Regions from separate parts of the Homo sapiens genome. Here region 1 is linked to region 2. The links are contacts of gene promoters, found by promoter capture Hi-C in human tissues and cell types (Jung and others, 2019). All regions are on one chromosome and are shown on one strand. The core of a region is centred on a gene start or on the middle of the fragment in contact, and the rest is flanking DNA. Distances in the headings are between cores, read along the strand shown.

Region 1 (6,893 bases), core at 144-2,643, 620 kb after region 2:
TGTACTATTTAGCCATATTATTTCTTTCTATAACTGTAAGCAATTGACTTAAGAAGGCAGAAGCTTTCTTAAGTCCTGTGAGTCCACGTACATTCAAATCGCAATTATCAACACACAACAGAGTTTCAGACAACCTATTCTGTTTCGAGTGTATGACTTTGTACAAATCATTTATCATTTCTGGGGTTCAGTATTCTGTATTACATTATGGAGAAGATTACCATTGAAGATTCTTCCAGCTCTGAAATATTCTGATTAGGTATGTAGTTAAGAAATTCATACCAAGGGTTGGCTCCAGGACTTATTCTTCACCTGCCAAATTTTTTTTTTAGTTCCTGATACACAGGAGCTCAATGTATCTAGATATCCCTTAAAACAAATTTTTGAATAATAAAATTTAATTAAAAATTTTGCATTGCATTCCATTGGCAACATTTCATACTGATTTCACTCAGTCCTATCAATAAGATAATTTCCTTATATTTTTCACATGACTGTTGTTTTAATAGTTGGAGAAATAGCTATCTCTATATTAAAACATTTCTCAAAGAGTCCACATAGATACCTATAAATTTTAATTACAAATTTAAGAAGAAGAGGTAAATATATAAAAGCAACATCTATCATTTTCTGCTAGATTGTTCTACTTTTTCTGATTTGTTTTAAATTTTTACACAAAGATTGAATCACTTTTATATGTAACTTTATAGCTAATGTGATTAGAAAACATATTGATGCATTATATAAATATTATATGGCCATATGGATTTTTGAAGTGATGTCTGACATACCAAATGTGAATCCATTTTATACATTCTTTTATATATAGTCAAGTGATAGCTATACAATAGGCTTAATAAAACAGCAAACAGCTCATTTGTCCTCCCTCTTTCGTCTAATTGCCCAACTTTCACAAATGAGGAAAATCTAATACCAAATATATCATTGTAAGTAGAAAAGTGTTTTGTTTCACTTTGTTGTTCCTTATTTTTAAAATGTATTCCAAGATTGAAAGAACTAGAACGTCACGGAGAGTACCAGAAATTTTTGTGCCCACAGACCTTGTAGAAGCTATGTTGGGGGTAGAGTTTGGAGTATGAATAAGCTGGAAGTAGGGAACCACAATAAATAATGAGATTTTGGTCATTTATTTTTTAAATAAGACAATACTGTATGGCTTTTTGAGTCCTGGAATTTTATGACATTCAGAAGATGGATGAGAAGAGCATTCCCATTAAGACCATTAAGGCAAGATTGTGAAGGTAATTTTAAGAGGATCAAGAGCCTGTAATACTAGAATCGGATCATTTGACACTGTGTCATTAACCTGATACTGCAGCTAATGTTCTCCAGTTTCCTTCTCTCTAAATATGAGGATAATAAAAGTATTTATTTTCTACTTAATAGACGTATAAGTTTAACACAAATAGTACACTTAAAGCACTTATTTAAAGTATCAAGTAGTTTGTAGTTATAAAATATTGTTTATTGATAAATATAATTTGCATAGATTGGATTTTAATAAGTGGTATCTATAGTACTAAGTTCCTTAAATCTATTATTTAATCTAAAACTAACAATAACTCTATAGAACAATAGTTAATACCCTTTAGAGCTGAATTTTACTCATGAGAAAACAGTCTTGTCCATGCCCTACAGATTATTGAGAAATAGAGCCAGAATTTAAAGCTAGGATTGAAGACACCCTAATCTGCATTTGAGCACCAAGTAAGTCCTAAGAGCCACTTTAAAATGTATTTTGTATATTATAAATATTTAAGTATTATGCTCAAAATTTCATATGTGGTAATCAGAATTCAAACTAAATCTATGGCTCTTTATGTTTCTGCTTCAAGATAATCAACCCCTGTTACAATATTTCTTCTATAATGTGTATTGAGGCTGAAACAAATCCATGTAATTTTTATTTTACACAAGATATAGAGTATCTCAAACAAGTGTAAATTCTCAAAAAGCATTTTGAGATTTAATGTTAAGAGTTTTCATCAATGACTATAGACATTTTGAAAGAAAGTAGCCCAGCCTGTCTATGGAAGAAAAAGAGAAATAAGCCTATAATTTCTTTTAATCTTACTGTGATCTGAGGTAATCATTAACAAATGTTACGTAACTTACTCCCAAGAGAAATTATAAATAAAAGACAGAAAAATCTCCCAACCATGACTCTTTGTGGGATATTATATTAATCAGTGGTTGGTAGAATGTGCCAAATTATCTTATTTAAAACACACACACACACACACACACACACACACACACAAAGCATTTTCTCACTCATCAAGGAAATTATCACCGTCAACAATTCCATTTGGCTTTACAAATAAGTGTTGCTCCTAAAGTTGCCATTAAATATAGGACCAGTTGATAGATTAAAATAAAGTAAGCTTTTCCTCCAACTCATCCATCTCTATTAGCAACGGCAACCTTTTAATGAAGACATTCACACCGTTACTACAATATAACACATGCTGAATTCCTCTAGTGCCTTCCAAATAGCACACCTGTGTATGATATACAAAAGCCAATAATAGAAAATTGATCTAGGAAGAAACAGTTTTATTTGTTCTGAGGCATGAAACACAGTTTATCATGAGTAAATTCACGAAAGATTTTATATGATTTTTTTTTCTGAAATAAAATATGGGGAAAACATAAGCAACAAATATACTAAAGATATAATGGCATTGCATGTGACATGTAGGCAACAGAAACAAAGTTAATAAATAACATAAACAAGTAGCTTTCAAGATTTGACTTGGGTGATAGGAATTGTTCATTATCTAATGTCAGATATTGCCTAGAGGAAGTGTATTATTTTCATTCATATTTGGATCATCACACATTTACATAAAAAACTGTAGTTGACTGCTAGTTTCAAAAACCTAATTGCAATAGCCTACACATTAAAAGGTTTATTTTTCTCCTATAACAAGAAGCCCTGTATTAGTCCATTCTCACACTGCTATAAAGACATACCTGAGTCTGGGTAATTTATGGAAAAAAAGAGGTTTAATTGACTCACTCTTTCACAGGCTGCCCAGGAAGCATGGCTGGAGCAGCCTCAGGAGACTTACAATCATGGCGGAAGGCGAAGGGGAAGCAGGCACATCTTTACATGATGAAGCAGGGGAGAGAGAGCAAAGTGGAAGGTGCTACACACTTTTAAACAACCAGATATTGTGAGAACTCACTATCATGAGAACAGCAAGGGGGACATCTGCCATCATGATCTAATCATGTCCTACCAGGTCCCTGCCCCAACATTGGGAATTACAATTTGACATGAAAATTGGGTGGGGGCGCAGAGCCAAACCATATCAAGTTCACAGTGGGCAGTTTCTGTCATTTTTTCAGTGGTTCAGGATATTAGGACCAAGTCTCTGTGCTTTTCTGAGCCTTATATATTATGATCTCAACACGGCTGCTATAGCCTTGTCCAGTCTTGTTTGAGGGAGCTAGAATGAGAATGGGACAAGAGCAGTAAAGTGATGCCCCCTCAACTAAATTACAAGAAATTACAGTGCTTTTTCTAAAACCTCATCAAAGGGCTCCTGCTTATATTTCCTTGGCACCCTCATCTCAAAGGAGTTTTATACTAAAAAGTTTGCCACTAACCCACATAGAGGAATTTTCTTACTGATGACAAAGATGAGAATACCTGTAGGAGAGACGAGGAGGTATTTTTGTTAACTGCACCCTAGCGAAACTTACTTCACAACTGATACAGAGAAAAGTGTATATAATTTAAACGTTGTATTTATTATAAAATTATGGATGGGTAATGATAGCATGAGTTTATTTATCAGATGAGAATTGTGAGATTTAAAAGTTAGTATTTCCCAGCCAGGCGTGGTGGCTCGCACCTGTAATCCCGGCACTTTGGGAGGCCGAGGTGGGCAGATCACCTGAGGTCAGGATTTCAAGACCAGCCTGACCAACATGTTGAAACTGCATCTCTACAAAAATACACAAATTAGCCAGGCATGATGGTGGGTGCCTGTAATCCCAGCTACTCAGGAGGCAGAGGCAGGAGAATCACTTGAACACGGGAGGCGGAGGTTGTAGTGAGTCGAGATGGTGCCACTACACTCCAGCCTGGGCGACAGAGCAAGACTCTGTCTCAAAAAAAAAAAAAAAAAGTTAGTATTTCCCATCAATCTGGTAAAACACATTATAAAAAATAAAAGTGGAAATTAACTTAGCCAGTTAAAGCAACTTATTACAAGCATCAGTTTCAAGTTTTCATAAAAGAATTTTAATATTCTTCACACTTATTCTAATGTTATTAGTTAGCTTTTAAAGAAACGGTTATCTACCTACAACAGAATAGTTCCACAATAGTTCCACAAATACACCTATTTACAAACTAAAAATAAAAATTAAGTTAAATAAAATTGTTATATATAATATGTATTTATGTATATATGATTCAAGTTAGAAACAGAACAACTTTACATGGCACTCAAACTTTCTAATGTCAAAATAGTCTTCAATTTGACTTAACATATTACTTTCAAAAGTAAAATATCCAAGTTGGACAAATTAATGAATAATAAGTAGTGGGAAGTAGACCCTTAAACTGATTTACTTCAGAAGCTTCATTATGTATTTCTCACCCTCCTTTATATGTTGCTTTATCATTTAAACTATAAACGGTGTAAGAGTTTATGAACACATGGGGATAAAACAGATTATTTTATGCAACTATAAAATTTGTAAAGAAAAATTACTCACAAATGTCAGCATGTGTGTCATACTTTATTCATTCGTAAAATTAGTATATAGAACAATAAAACCTAAAATTTTATTAAATATAAAAATGTATACTATGCACATTAAATTTTATATTTTCAATTTTGTTCTTTTTGCAAGAAAATTTTGCTACTTAATAAAAGATTATCTGATATGATGTATATATTTGAAGGCTGACTGAGTGAGTGATATGTTGGAAATATTTTCTTGCTAAATATGTTTTCAGTTACTTAAAAGATGCAATAAGTTGTAAGGCCTTAATATAGTTGCAGTACTAATGTAATCTATTTGGTCCTTTCTGCAATAGATGGAAATAAGTGACTAAGAAATTAACAAAGTATAAGTCCTTCTGGAAATTCAAGATAATAAAGAGCAACTTTATTTAATATTCCACAAATGTTCTATTTACATTATGCATCCTGATTAAGTGCCAGAACACTTTTTATTCAGTAAATATGACTGCACCCATTTTCTTACATTACATTTTACAGAAGACAGATGGCCCCAGCATGTGTTCCCTCTTGGAATATGATCTAAATTCCTGATTCCAATGAGTATGCATGTATATGTTTGCATGTGGATGTGGATGTACATCAAATAGAAATGTATTCTTTGACACCACACATTTTTGTCTCATGATGGAAGAAAAAATGTTATTATTAAAAACAAATAATTACAGAGTAAATAAAGAATTCTGATTTTTTATGAAATTGCACATTTCATAGAAATGGGAGTGAAGGGCTTTCCAAACTTTCTGAAGTAGATTTTTGTAAATGTTCTTTATCCCCAAATTTTAGTGTTGGATAGTCCCTTAGAGGTCATCTAGTGACTAAGCCCTTCGTAAGGAAAGGCCTTGATGCCTTAGCCGGGAGGTTTTAAGTGTATGAACAAGGTCACAAAAGCAGAGGCAGAGGACTTTCGTTTTGGGTGATAAAGCACATTATTCCAGTCTTTACAAGCAGGAAAAAGCTAGGCAATCTGAAAATTAATTCTTTTTTAAGCCATCAAATAACTAAAATCCCAGAGCAACCAAATAACCAAAACTCCAGGGAGAGACAGGCATTTGCAGGCAGAAAGATTCTGACTGCAAAATTGCTTCTGGAACACATGCCATAAGACTCCATAGAAGCCTATACAAAGATACATCTAAAGGTTTTCAATTAACTGTTAAATATTGAATGCAAGTGTATGAGAGTGAAACCTCTGGGAACATGTGTAAAGAGGCTCACACTCTTGTAGGCTTTGCCTCCACAAATGCCACACACAACATTCATAAAGAAAATCACAGAGAACCCTTAGAAAATGCTGAAGCTCTGTCACATTGGGAGGATAGGAGTGGTTGTCAGATGCCATTGCTACAACTCCAGCCAGACCGTTCCATCTTTCCTACAGATAACAGCCTTGATCTCCGGGGAAGGACAAAAAAACTTACCACTTTAGGGCACTGGTAGAAAACCACTGCAGCTGGGACAACCACAGGGTGAAAAAGCATTACCTCTGAGGATGATCAGGGTGCATGCCATTCCAACCTCTAGTATTTGAGGAAATGCAAGAGAAGTTGCAAAGGGCATACTACTGAGGCCCAGGGACACAGTACCATCCTAAAACTGTGGCTTAATCTCAGCGTCCCTCCTTCTCACCCACGTGATTACAAGCCTTTAGAAAACAACAGTGGAATACAGCTGGGAGGTCTGCAAGAGATATTTTTTCTTGTAATGCAAGAAATGCAATATAATGTAATGCAATGTAGTGTAATGCAAAAGAAAGACCCAAACCAACATGGGGAAAGAGCCATTGACAAAAACAATACTCTGGCAGTCTACCTGATCAAAGGACTTTGAAGCCTGTGTGTGACACCTTAATGGGTGTGACTAAGTATGACCATTCCAACCAACTTCAAATCCAGCCTAATCCCTAATAGGATTACATAAACCAACACCTTGCTGGCCTAGTACAAATTTCTCTAAGAATAAAACATTCTTACTTTCAGTAACTACTCTCCTTCATAAGATGTCAGTTTTTAACAAAAAATTATAAGGCAAACAACAAGGCAAAAGAGAGAAAACAATCATCAAAGCAGACTTAGATATGCCCAGGCAAGTATTCTTAAGAATATGATT
Region 2 (6,067 bases), core at 774-3,273:
TCATCCTCCTTGCTATCTGGCCTCAGAGAAGAAGGAAAAGGAGAAGGAAAAGGAGAAGGAAAAGGAGAACAAAAAGGAGAAGGCAAGGCATCACTGGAGTGATGACATGTGGCTCTCTCCCTTCTCTGCCCTTCACATTTTTCTTTCCACGTGCAGAACTGGGAAGGCTCTGACCACCCCTGCCCCCGCGGTTGCCATGGTTACACAATAGCAGCAGCACCAGACCCAGGAGATGTCTCAGACCTCTCCTCTACCTCCGCCTCAACCCTTCCCTCTCTGTTAGGAGATCCTCCCCCTCGTCTCTGCGCGCCCCCACCCCGCCATCCCCCGCTAGCGCACACATGCAGGAGAACCCTTTTTAGGCTAAACCGGAAAGTTTAGGTCTTCTCCCCTCTTCTTTTGCTTGTGCAAATAGCACTAAGCTAAACGGAAAGTGGTGGGGTTTTGGTGATGAAATAAGAGTCCACGCACAGAAGCTTGCCTTTTATTACCGCTTCGCTCGAGGCGAAATCGCTGAAAGTTCGGCTATTTAACTCCTGTCCCCATAACTCGGAATCCCGGACACCAGCGGCCCCAGCTGCTGGCGCGCGGCTCTCTTCCAGTCCCCTGGATCCCAAAGCTCCCTGCCACAGCGCGGCGTCTCCTCCTCCTGTCAACTTCCCTCCTTGCACTGTGACGGAGGCAAAGCAACTCAGCCCAGGAGGTTGAACTCGAGTCATCAGAGAAGGAGAAACAGTGCCGAAAACGGCCCGTGCGCTACCAGGGTAGCCCATTAACGCATTAACTCCAGGCTCGTTGGGCAGAAGCCGGGAGGAAACACCCTGGGGACCGCACTCCTGGTTAAATGCCCAGCACGAGTCAAATCCGGCCTTTCCAAAGCGAGCCAAGCCCACTACTACAAAGAGATCCCCCGAGTGTTTTGCCTTAACCACATTTCAGACAGCCAGCTTTGTGGCTGCTGTTTGACTCCAACTTTCCCTCTAAATCTAAAAGGATGCACACTTCCATCAGACGGAACGTCGCGATTCCCCGGCGAAGAAAAAGGCGTCGCCCATTCCTCTTCCAAAACGCTACAACAAAAACCACCACGCTTCCCTTCCTTCTTCCTTGCCCCTTTCCCTTCTCCCAGACCAACAAGGAAAGGAGCGAGCGAGGGCGCAGATGCCCTTTGGTCAAGTACTCCCCGGATGTTCCCGACTAAAGCGTCTCCAAATGAACCTGCAGCCTGCGGAAGCCGGGGACACATTCATAGACGCTCTCTGCTGCCCAGACCAGGAGGGGTGGTGGGGGAACCAGGAAGCCAGGGAGAGAGCAAAGTTCCTGGACGCGTCTCAGGAGGAAAACTTTGTGCAGTGCTGCCAGGCGGAGGCTCGTCAGAAGGCTCCGCAGCTGCTGAGGCGGGGTGGGACTGCGCCCCAGGGGCCGCGCTGAAGCTGGCGCCGCGATTACTGCGCACCGATTTCGCCCACTCTCTGTCCGCTCCCGGGAGCCTTCTCTGTCTCAGGACGGTTCCTTATCTCCCAAACCATGCTCGTCCTCCACTTCGGACCCACAGCCACCCCCAAATCCCGGCTATCCCCGCTTAGCACCGCGGTCTCCAGCACACCCTCCCACTGGAGTAGCAGGTGACCCAAACCAGACTTACCTGCTGTGAACTCTTCTCTCCCTCTCTCTTTTCCTGGTGCCTTTTCAGGGAGAGGGGAACGGGATGCAGGCTGAGGTCCAGCGGCGCGGCAACCCGGGGCACCGGCGCGCGTTCCTCTGAGCCGCAGCCCTGGCTGAGCAAGCGGAGCCGCCGGCAGCCCTGGCAGAGCCGGGAAGCTGCGGCCGCAGGGGCCAGGCCGGGAGGCAGGGGGCGCTGCTGCCTCCCCCGAGAGCCGCGCTAGGACAGGCGGAGAGCAAGGCACCAGCTGGAGCTTTGGGGAGGAGAGGGTGGCGAGGAAAGGCACGCTCCAAACAGGAGGGCGGCTTTTAAGTTTGTGGTGTGACCGCAGCAGCTGTCCTGGGAGAGACTCAGTCTTTCTAAAAAGAGGATGCTGAAAACGCCGGGGATTACCTTTCCCCTTCCGATCTCCTCCCCCAGCCCTCGCCCCCTCCTTCCACTGCGCACGCCAGAACTCCCAAGCGTGCAGAAGTTCATCCCTGCTGCGCGGAGGCTGCCAGCAGCGTGGATTTAGAGGTAGCCCTGGCCAAGCGCTGACGGATGTTTATCAGGACAGGGCACCCTATGTGTAAAGCAACCTCTAACGTCTGATCTTCCTTCTGGGTGACTTGGGGACTTCTTTAGTTCCTTCTCTATACCATAAAACCTGTTAAGGGACCCCATGAGGAAGAAACAGGGAGAGTGACCACAAACACCGTCCTAAAAATGCTAATCCCACAAAACAGTACCTGCGTTCCACTATGTAAAACCTCAATCCACGGTTAATGGCCTTGACAAGGCAGGCATAGGGATGAGGAACAGGGATCAACCCTCCGTTAAGGGGCTGGCACCCGATTAAGACCAAACAGGGAGAGATAAAAACGAGTAGAATGTAATCCTTTCTTCCTCTTTCCCTTACGCCAGACCTACAAAGAGGTGTGCCTCATATCCTTGTCTTCGGGAGTTTTTTAGATTTTTGCACCCCTTATTCACACAGTAGGAACTTAGAAGTATATAATGACGAGAAGATCTAAGTTTTGATGAACCTGGATCCTATGCAATTGGAATAGAGGATCCTCTTTAAGCAAAAGTAATGCAGAAATATCTCACTTCTACAGATTCTGCAAAAATATATGACAATGAGAGTTCATGAGGCCACCGTCAGGGACATTAAAAAGGCCTGTGCATTTGGTGAGCCCTGTACGTTAGGCATTTTTAGCTGCATGGTAAATCCTTTGTGATGGGATATCCAGGTTTATAGTCACACACCTTGCCCTTAGTCCCAAACATAAATCTGACATGAGGTAGAGACATGGAAAGCAAGCAGCCACGGGATCCTGCATTTGTCAGCTTGATTTAAGAGCACAAGGTGTAGGGTCCCAAAGCTTCCTTAGCAAGTAACAAGAGATATCTTGATTTGGAGATGGTGAACAGACAAATGCAGTAATGGAATAACTGAAAGGGGTGGAAGACATTCTTCATTTGACCTTTTATCTGTGGCAGAGGGCTGAGGGCCACAGAAGCTAAAGGAGTCATTTTAAGTTATAAATGGTTGATGGCAGAGTCAGGCTAAGGAAAGGCTCAGGTTTCTCAAATCTGACCAAGGCTCTTTCTTGTGTCTCATGCTGCCCCATCTCTATAACCTTGGTTTGGACTCACAACCAATCAACCCCATAAATACCCTCTTTGGATAGAGAAAAAAATTTTAAATCCTCGTAGACTATTTCAAACTATAGCAACTTTTATTTTTTTTCTGAATGCTTTATATTTAATGTTATACCACTCATTCTGTACATAGTCATGCAATTGTTTATTGTATGTTTCTATGTGTTTATATTATTTTCATTTGTATATGTCATTGCACTTCCATGCAAATTGCAATGTCATTGTGCAAATAAAATATCTCTTTTTTTCTCCCGTATATGGTGGGTTTATAGTAAGTAGTTTTTGATTTTTAGAAAATCTCTATTTTTAAACTTTTAAATAATTTTGTCAGTTTATTGGCCAGAATTTTGTGTTTAACTAGAATTGTGGTTAACTTTGGATTTCCCATTTTCCTCCTTTCTCTTTTAAGTTGTAGCTTAATATGCTTAAACCAAATGACACCTTCCTTTGCTACCATTCAATACTTTCCATAAAGCCCTTACAGAATTAATCACTCCCTCCTGTTTTCCCAAAGCACTTTGATTTCACTACTATAATAAGCTCTTTTCACTTTATATTATAATTAGTTATGCATGTGTCTGCATCCCATACAAAAGTGTTGGCTGTTTTGTGTCTTTGTTTCTTCAGCCTCTAATACAATGCCTGTGACATTGTATTGTACTGATTTAGTTTGAGATGCTCAGACTTCAAATTTAGACAGAATTTACCAGAGTATCCTGAACATATCATGAGAAAACAACATCTGGAACGTGAATTCTGTGCTTTCCTTCCTTTTAATGACTCTGAGCACAAAGCAGATGGAATCAACTGTTAATATGTTGCCCAATGTGATGAATGGCCTCAGCTGTGTCCATGGCTCCGTAATCTTCAGGCTGCTTCCCTGAATGTCTTGAATGTGTTAGGTGCTTAACAAATATTTGTGTGTTAAACGAGTTAATAAAAACAGTAGAAATAATGTTAATATTCAGTCACTGGATTTATTTCTGAATTTCTAATAACTGTATAGGGTCCCACCAAGATAGTTTTAACAACCCTTTCTAAGAGTTTGAGATCTACTTTCATCAAAAGCAATTTGGTATTCTGTCCTATAGGGCTAATACCCTATCTAAATTCTTAAAATAAAACCCAGTGGGAAAAAAAGTATATTTTACAAAAAGTTTTGCTAAAATACAAGGTGTATTGTGCAGTTTAGTTTGTCTTCAAGGGTGACTATTCAAGATTTAACGAGTGAGCCTTAATTTCACTGAAAGCGATGTGTATATCATCAGTTAAAACCACCTAATTGTTGCTTGTATGCCTGTTTCAGTCCAAGGGGAAAAATACAAACAAAAAGAAAAAGGAAAGAAAACAAATAACTTTCATGTTCTTGGAAACATTATTGAATAAATAAATTGTGTGCCTTGAGAATCTAGGCTATTCTGAGACATACTACTCCTCACCCATCTCTATTTGGGCTCACAAATATAATATGAGTAAGTAATTTTCATTTTATGGTAGTAATATGTGTTAGGCAATATGAAATACACTATTTCTCAAAGGATCACATTTAATGCCAAACAAATCCAAAGAATAAAATTCTAATTGTAGAATTTCAGTAATCATCCATCTATGTTGAGAGCCATGGGAGAAGGCAGCAGGGATGGGTTAGGGTAGAATAGACATATTGTAGGCTTCTCCAATTCCACATATAGCTACCTCTGAACAGAAGACAGGAGAAAGGTAATTACTGGGTCCAGAGCTTAAATCTAGCAGAAGATTTGGCTGTCCTCTCAGCAGAAGATACTAAAACCAACAAAATCTACAATCCTAGTTCTCTCTGAACAGTTTTATATTCACAAATCAAATGAAAATTTGGTGAATTTGAAAGAAAATTATTGATGAAGGAGACCTCAAAGTTTATACACAGAGGCAAACAAGAAAAATTGTGTTAAAAAGCATGTCATTTTAATGTTTACTTCTCTAAAACTAGTCATACCTTAGTCATTCAGAAAACCTCTCTGTCTTATAATAAATATCACCTTATAAACGTTTTCTCATATATCACCTTATCAGCACTGACTGATAAGAAATGTTGTTATCCTCATCCAAGAAAATCGGCGTGTATGTTAAGTTACATCTAGTTGGAACAAGTGAGTGCATGAGTTTAAAGCAGCTCACCCAGCCCCTTATCTTCTATTAGCTATTTTCTTCTTATAAACTCCAGGTATTTTTTTCCATCTATTTCATTTGATCGTAGCAATACACTCATCACTGGATCATTAGATATTTACATTATAAAATCATCTGATGTGTTTAATGGTGGGGAAAAAAACACACCTGACTTTCATCTTTTATTTCTGTATTAATTATAATACATAGAACTCTCAGAAGTAAATGCATCCCTGCTTCTCATCATCAGATAAAGACAGAAAACAGTTTATCTTTAGTTAATTGGTATGTAAAACTGTCCAAACTTTGCTTCATACTTTTAAGTTTTAAACTCTTATAAAATCATAAATAATCATAAACATTCATAGTCAGAAGACACCTCAAAACCTTCTATCCCTCATGTTAGACACAAGGAAACCAGGGCCAAGGAAGACATAGTTATCACTCAGCTCCTTATGACTTCTGACTTGATGCCCTCTGTAGAATATTTCACCCTGCTATAGAGACTTTTCTTAAAAAAAGAAAAGAAAAAAAAATCAGCTATTTTTCAAAACTGTCCAAGCCAGAATCTTAAGGCTATATTTACTTAGCTGGGTTGGGGTGTGGTGAATA

The links. Contacts are between HindIII fragments. The study calls those that stand out against the background at their distance.
Region 1: a contact is called between a fragment that was not itself captured here and the fragment with the promoter of SEMA3D in region 2, in 5 of the 25 tissues and cell types used here (IMR-90 fibroblasts, aorta, bladder and 2 more).

Annotation. Positions count from the first base shown.
Region 1 is chr7:85,810,461-85,817,353 of GRCh38, forward strand. No RefSeq gene overlaps it. Among named protein-coding and RNA genes, the nearest start is that of LINC00972, 390 kb to the left of the region's middle. The HindIII fragment of the contact is 4,236 bases long and covers 1-3,511 here.
Region 2 is chr7:85,185,033-85,191,099 of GRCh38, forward strand. It overlaps SEMA3D (semaphorin 3D), which reads right to left and starts at 2,024. Exons shown (of 19, transcript NM_001384900.1): 1 at 1,646-2,024. RefSeq lists a silencer at 1,836-1,895. The HindIII fragment of the contact is 9,968 bases long and covers 1-6,021 here.